Linked DNA regions of Homo sapiens: region 2 is linked to region 1. The links are contacts of gene promoters, found by promoter capture Hi-C in blood cells and fetal thymus (Javierre and others, 2016). All regions are on one chromosome and are shown on one strand. The core of a region is centred on a gene start or on the middle of the fragment in contact, and the rest is flanking DNA. Distances in the headings are between cores, read along the strand shown.

Region 1 (3,845 bases), core at 740-3,239:
TGATAGCATCCTGGCTCTGGACTGGTCTTTAAGTATCTAGAAGTGAGTGTAGGAGGGGTGGCTGGGAAGGTGGAAAATAGATTCTAAGACCCCTAAGCAGATTGTGCGACCCTAATACTGGCCCTTTGAATTTACTTTCTGGTAAAAAAGGGACTGGGATAAGTGACTATTGGGCTCTGGGTCTTTTAGAATTTGACAGAGCTTTACAAATGGAACATGGTTTCTTTAGTGGGGCTCTTACTTACACGTTTGGAACTTTCTAGACCTGGATTAGAAAGCAGGGCTCTGCTGACTGAGAATTGTTTTAGTTCAGTGGTCTTAAAGCTGAGTACGGGAGAAAGTACATACAGGGAAAGAAATAGGCTATATCAGCTGCCCAAACAATGATAGAAAGTACACTTTCCTACCATTGACACAGATACCGGCAGTCCCTTGTAGATAGATGACCTGTAGCAACCAAGGAAGCTTTAAGGGGAATGTGTGGGCTTCATAGGGTGGTTTGTTTGCTTTCTGATATTGTGACATAGTTTAGGTGTTCGAAGTTAAGTGGATTTATGGATTCTAATATCTATAATTAGAATGTTTATCTTGTTTTGTAAAAGAATGAGCGGTGACCTTGATAATATTTGTAACACAAAATAGTTCTTACAGGTTCGCTTCTCCCCATCACTGCCCCTTTACACCATCCTCTACATGTTATTTAATGAAAAACCACTTGAAAGGGTTACCAAGGATAAGATTTTTAAAGCTTGCTTTCACAAACAACTCATGCTCCAGGCTTGTCAGTGGCATGCTTCCAGGTGGATATTATTTTAAAAAATTGACTACATTTCCCGTCGTCCCTTGGTGTCCGTGGAGAATTGGCTCCAGGACTCCCTCCCTCCCCCCAGTCTCTTTCAGATACCCAAATCCACCCATGCCAAAGTCCTCCAGTCTGCTCTCCGTATCCGTGGTTGGGTCAAATCTATAGATGTGGAACCCGCATATACGGAGAGCCAACTGTAATTTGTCGTTAAGGTAAAGGATAAAAATTTTAAGTGAAAAAGCAATTGTTTTGGAAGGAAATTCTCTAATACAGGATTTTGAAAGGGGATGTAGACGTGTTTGCATTACTGTATGTTTAATGCTGAAAATTATATATTGTACATAAAAGTTGTCCTGTATACTCATAAACTGTAGAAGCTCGATTTTCTACCATGTTTAAAACTTTTTCAAATGAGTTTTGGTGACTTTTTGAACTCATTCAAAATATAATGCAACACCTCCCCATTAGTTTGTTACAGGAACAACTTTTTGACGTGAAGGAAGATAGAAATTTAGCCATAAAATTCCATCCAAAACTTCCACTGAATTGGTAGGTAGTATTGAAAAATGTGCATCATAATTTGATATGGCTGCCTGTGCCCTTGTTATGTTTGTGGGTACGCGTCTTTGCTGTGCATCGCTTTTATCTGTTGCAGCTGTTAACAATTGATGATCAAGAGAAATTGGACCTCAGCTGGTCTTCAAATTGATGTAGCCCAAGATGTTAAGCCAGATTTTTTAAAAATGACAAAACATGTGGTTTCACTATTAGTAATAGTAATACTGAAGAACACTTTGTACCATTGTAAAGAAAATTATAATAATAGCTAAGACTCATGTGGCCCTTACTGCATGCCTCCCATTATGGAAATGTTGTTTTACATATATTCTTACTAGTCTTCATCAACACTTAAAGTAGTTCCTGTAATTATGCCCAATTATAGAGTTGAGGAAACTGATGCATTTTTTTTTTCAATAGAAACTTGTGTTGTTCCCCCTCCAGGAGCTTCTCAAAACAGAAGTCAGGCACAATATTAAATACTTGTTGAATGATCACAGAAGTACAATAGTAGGTTAACATATTTAAAGCTTCTCTCAGCTTATTTTAGACTATTATCTGACAACTTTAATGAGATTTTAATTACCGTAGTATTAGAAAATGGCCCTGGGAATGGAGGTGAAGTGTGATACTGGGAAGTAAGTCATCTGCTGGTAGTGGGATGAGATAAATGAGATCAATGTACTAAATCAAGGAAATTGAAATTATTCAGTGTGCAGAAGCAAGCTTACATTTAGGTTATCTTTACATGGTATCAGACTTTAAGCTGGTACATCATGTTTGAGATATCTGGCTAAATTTTATAACATGGAGCTTTGTCCTCCTTTTGAGGATTTCTAACTTGTTAAGTGGATTAAAAGCATTTCATGTGAGGAATCATTTTAAAAAGTATCAGTGTTTATCCTGAAGAAGAAAAAATGAAGGAGTTAAGAGTTAATGCCATCAAATATTTGAAAAAGTGTCATTTGGAGGTGGAAGAGGACTTTACCTGTGTTGTCCTAAGGGAAGATCTTACACTATACTTGAGAGGCAGTCATTATTAAAGGCATTAAAATGAGACGTGTGCTAATAGAATAACTAGATTGTCGTGGAAGTGAGGGAACAGAGTAATCAAGTAGAAATAAGGACACAGGATAGAAATCAATGCCATAGAAATACACATTTGAGAAACCAAGATGAGGAAAGGCTTCATGGAAGTTGGGAATGAAGCTTGGCCTAAAAATACCAGTAGGCACTTGGGTATATGAGTGTGTGTGTGTGTGTGTGTGTGTGTGTGTGTGTTTGTGTGTGTGTATTTCTTGCTAGAGATACAATTGTAGAAATTGATTGGATTAGCTGGAAACCTTGGGGTATGAACTAGAGTCCTCCATTAGCAGAAAAAAAGCAACTGTGTAAGGGAAAAGTGAACCAGTATTCCCTGGGTGAGTAACTTGAGAGATAATTTCATTTGCACCTCCAGAAAACCTTGACAGGCTTTTATTTCCCTCTTTAAACAGGTCAGGAAGTCGAGGTTTAGGGAGGTTAAATAATCTGCCTAAATTCATAAATTTCATAATTGGTAGAACTGAGATGCAGACCCATATTTGAGCCCAAAGCTCTTTCTTTCTCATCACGTGTAGCATTGAGTGTAGGAAATGAAGGAAAAGGAGACAATGGTGATTCTAAGTTTTTCAGTCTGAGGACCAGAAAACTGGTGGTACCCTGGGTTAACAAGGGGTTCATAATAACTTCAGTGTGACAACCTCAGTTTTAGTTACATTCAGTTTAAGGAGCTTGTGATACATTGGGTAGGAGAGTTCATTATGTCACTGGAAAAGTAGAGCTTGATGTGCACATGTTAACATTTGGAGCTTTGGAAATACAGAGGCCAGAGAAGATGGAGAAGATGACAGGGAATGTACCAACCACTCCTTTCAGAAATCTAGTCTGTGTTTTCTAATGTGGTCAGAGAATTGGAAGTGAGTTTCTAACAGTTTATTTTGACAATTTGAATGGAAAAAAAGTTGACTTTTGTACATCATTTCTTGGAGATGATTATTTTGCTGTTATTGATACTATTGAAGTTGACATAATTTCATGTTTTCTCATTAGTCTTTTCCAGTATTTTGCTCCATATCAACTTTTTTGTGTGTCTTTTACTGTATTGTATACTCTGTTCTGGTTTTGTCTTTTTATTGATAACAAATGCCCCTCCAAACAAATTTTGAAATCAACTTTTTTTTTTTTAAACTGCAGGAGTGAAAGGGAAGCAATGCAGAAATCAGAGGGCTCTGGAGGTACACAGTTGAAAAACAGAGCAACAGGTACAGAGCTTTTGTTTTTAAGTGAAGAGGTCAAGTTTGTTCATGGCACTTTCTGTGCTACAGATGGATGCAGGGTGAACTTTATTGCTTGTACCTGGTTTCTATTGATGTTCTGTTTTTTTCCAGGTAACTATGATCAAAGGACATCATCAAGCACACAGTTAAAACACAGGAATGCA
Region 2 (3,845 bases), core at 355-2,854, 3.2 Mb before region 1:
TCAACATTTGTTATATTATTAATTAACTTGTTATCCCATGGGGGATACTGAAACAATGAAAAGTCTCCATCATCCTAGCCCTCCCTAAGATGGCAGGAAGAAGCTCGGAGGGGAAAGACCAAGAGCCAGAGGTAAATCAGCTCTCCAGATTCTGCCAAGACCAAGGTAAACCAAAGTGCCACCACCAGGAGAAAGCACAGCCTTCACCCTCTAACACATGACGCTAACAGGATCTACTGCCTTAAAGATATTGGGGGCATTAAGAGTCTATGGGAACTCTGGTACTGGGAACACAGTGCCTGGCCCTTGGCAGAAGTGCTGCCTCTGTCACCACCATGCATCTCTGAAGACCTGGGAAAGCGCCCTCATCAGTGTCCCCAAGCACTGAGCAGATGGGTGGCAGGAAGGGAGTGGTGTGACTGAATTCTTCAGAAGCATATTCCTGTACCAGATTCTGAGCAACAAGAAAACCTTGGTAAATGTACACTATTTGGGTGATGGTTACACTAAAAGCCCAGACTTCACCACTACACAACATATCCATGTAACTAAACTGTACTTTTGCCCCCTTCATCTATAAAAATTAGATAGTTTTTTTTTAAAGAAAATCCTGAAAGCCTTTTTCTGGTCCCAGGGGAACTCTTGCCCAGGCTGCTGTGCTGCTGCTGCTAACTAAGCTCCCAGAACGCTGCCGCTGGCAGTGTCTCCACCGGGAAATTGCTGAGGCCTGCTGAGCGGCTGAGGTCAAGGGTCTTTGGCCATGTATCAGCTCTGCTCCGACTTGCCGCCTCCTGGAAATTGACACCTGACTATGCAAAGTAGTTGAAATAGTCTTTGCAGAGCAAAGAAGCCGTCAGCGTTTTTCCGTGCTGAGCCTTCAAACTGTCAGATCCAATGGGGCTAAAAGAACAGGGGTGGGTAGTAATAGTAACATTAATAGACAGCATTTAAACAGTTTTTACCAGGCGTCAGGTAATTTATGTGCAACGACACCAATTATCTCATCTAATCGTCCCAACTCTCACTGTCAGAATCTCCGTTGTACAAATGGGGAAACCGAGGTCCTACGGCGTTAGGTAATCAATACGCGGTCTCATGACTAGTAACCGGGACTGGGCTGTCTCATTCTAGAGCCTTCCTTCTACACTCTCTCTCCGTCCTCTCACCCCTGCTCCCGTTCCTCCCCTTTGGAATTCTCTCCCGAGTCACGCCGGACTTTTTGGGTCTGGCGGAGGCCCACGGAGCACCTCCTTGCACAGCAAAGGCCCAGCGCCCTGGGACTGGCGTGCGCACGCACTCGGAAACAGGAATAGACGCGTAGACCTGTGCGCGCACGTGCAAGCAACACGAGTCAGGGGGTGCACAGGGGCCCCCACCTTCCTCTAGACTGCCCCCCGCCGGGTTCCACACGAAAGCCCCCGGCCACCCCCGCGGAGACCCAGCAGCCCCAGCCCGCAGCATTACCCAGTTGCGGGCCCGAAAAGCCTGCACGCATCGAGAACCCAGAGCGCCCCTGCCGCCGTACACCAGCACCCGGCGCGCCTCGCCTGCAGCCGCCGCCGCCGCCATCCTGCTCCTGCCAGCCCGGCTCCCGCAGCTCCGAATGCCTCGAGCCGGAGCGCCGCGCCCCGCCCCGGCCGGCCAACCCCGCCAAGAGGGAACGCGCGGCGGCCGCGCCCCGCTCCGCGCCCGCTGCTGCCGCCTAGCGCGCTGCCACGCTCGGGGCGCCCCGCCACCCGGAGGGACTGTAACTTCGGCCAGGCCCTGCCCCTGGGACGGGGACATCGGCGAAGCCCCTCCTCCCACCCGCCAGCAAGTGCTGGGCCTCGGGGCGTGCAGCGAGCCGGGCTAAGGGCGAGGAGGGTGGAGAGCGGGTGTTTTACGAGCATTAATTTGTGAAGTGTAAGCATGTAAAATATAGTATAGTACAATTTTCGACCACTGTTTTGGCAATTTTTTATTTTTAATTGTGCATCAAAATAGAGATTTAAGTATTCCCACCTGCCAAAAAAACAGAAGAGGTCGCTCCGCTCAAGGAGCTGAAAGTCCACCGCCGAGACGAGACAAACCACACTAGGTCTTATTTCTTCTATCTAACCGTAAATTTATACCCATTAATCCAAATGGCCCTTTTACTATATGCCACCCATCGCCAGACACAGATCCTGGCATTTTCTCCCTTGTATATTAGTTATTTCTGCCCATGGCCTGTATCTTTAACACAGAGCCTCTCATCTACAGCACTACTGACATTTTGGGCCAGATAATTATTTGTGACAGGTGCTGCCCTGGGTACTGTAGGATATTTACAGCATCCCTGGCCTGCATATACTAGAAATCAATAGCAAACCCCTACCCCTCACTCATAAGAATCAAAAATATCTCCAGATTTAACAGTTGTCTCCTAGGGGCAAATTCATCACTGATAGAGAACCAGAGCTCTAACACTCTCATAACCTTCTTGATAGCAGAACCCTGTATTACATACATCTTTGTGTCACTTCCCATCCACATATAACCTTGTACACAGCAGACACAGATGTTTGTTCAGTAAACTTGTGCCAGGTAAAGCATGCAGAAATATGTCACTAGAGAAGAGGATGCAGCCAGCAGCACATTTTGTTGTCAGAAGCTTCATTATCAGAAATAGAACTGCTAGGAGGCTGGATGGAGAGGAGAGCACCATCTATTTAGTGCTCCTTATATCCAAGGCACTGCGCTAAGTGATCTGCCTGTGCTATTTCACTTTACTCCACACGATAATCCTATGCAGATTAGAAAGCTGAGGCATGAGAGTCACAGACACTTGTCTGGAAGAGTGGGAATTTGAACACAGGTCTTCAATAGCTAGAGTTCCACTTAACCACACCTTTGTTCAGCAAGACAAAGGCTTGTTGGGAATCAAGTGTTTCCCTTAGAGTTTTTCTGAAAACAATTGCTTAACCCTCAAAACACCAAAAGTTGACACAGGTCCCTCACTGACGGCAGAAATATGACTCAATGATATTTACGCAAGTCCTGACTTGTCAAAGCATGCTTAATGTTAAAATAAGAACGTGAACTAACATTATTGATCACTTAATGTGCCAAGCAGTCTTCTGAGCCTTTTATATGTATTCTGTTATTTTTTACCAGAAAAACATTTGCTGTTTCAAAGTCACTGGGATGAAGATGAGCTGTTGTAATTCAAAGACCTGAATTTCAGCCCCAGCACTGACATCCAGTTTTTCATGAGAGAAATGGCTGAAATCGTGCATCTCCTGTTTACCTTAAAGGGTTGCTGGAGCATCAGAGGTGAGCAAGCATATGGTCAAAGCATTTTGCATTTTGTACATGGTAAAGTGCCACTCATCTGTATATATAGTAAGAGACAGGATCTCACTCTGTTACTCAGAGTGGCATGATCATAGCTCACTACAGCCTTGAGCTCCTGGGCTGGAGCAGTCTTCCAGCCTCAGCCTCCAGTAGCTGGGACTACAAATACACGCCATCAGGCCCAACTATTTTTTTTTTTTATTTTTTGTAGAGATAAGGTCTCACTACATTGCCCAGGCTCAGAAATTCTCATTTTTATTTTCATTGTGGAGTGGCCACTGAAGTGAGCCCCAGTTGCGAGGAAGGAAACTGACATTTCCATTAATGTGTCCCTCTGCTTCCTTGACACTCTCCAAGTGAGATTCCTGGGACCCCTATTGGTTAACAGTGCAACTTCCTGAACCCCCCTTCAGGCTTCTGTGACCAACTAAGAAATTTTACTGCTCCACTTTTGCCCAACTTTGCTCCCCAGAGATATGGATAGAGTGACTGTTGCCAGTCTCACATGATGTTAAGTTGATATTCAGGAA

What was found. Contacts are between HindIII fragments. The CHiCAGO score rates a contact against its expected background, and 5 or more counts as called.
Region 2: a contact is called between the fragment with the promoter of QDPR here and a fragment that was not itself captured in region 1, in 4 of 17 cell types (naive B cells, total CD4 T cells, naive CD8 T cells and 1 more). The highest score is 7.5, in naive B cells.

What each region holds. Positions count from the first base shown.
Region 1 is chr4:20,700,868-20,704,712 of GRCh38, forward strand. PACRGL (parkin coregulated like) reads left to right here. Exons shown (of 9, transcript NM_001258345.3): 2 at 3,599-3,666; 3 at 3,793-3,845. The coding sequence starts at 3,615. Among named protein-coding and RNA genes, the nearest start is that of PACRGL, 2.3 kb to the left of the region's middle. The HindIII fragment of the contact is 196 bases long and covers 1,892-2,087 here.
Region 2 is chr4:17,510,486-17,514,330 of GRCh38, forward strand. It overlaps QDPR (quinoid dihydropteridine reductase), which reads right to left and starts at 1,605. Exons shown (of 7, transcript NM_000320.3): 1 at 1,465-1,605. The coding sequence starts at 1,569. RefSeq lists a silencer at 1,234-1,813. The HindIII fragment of the contact is 4,464 bases long and covers 1-2,630 here.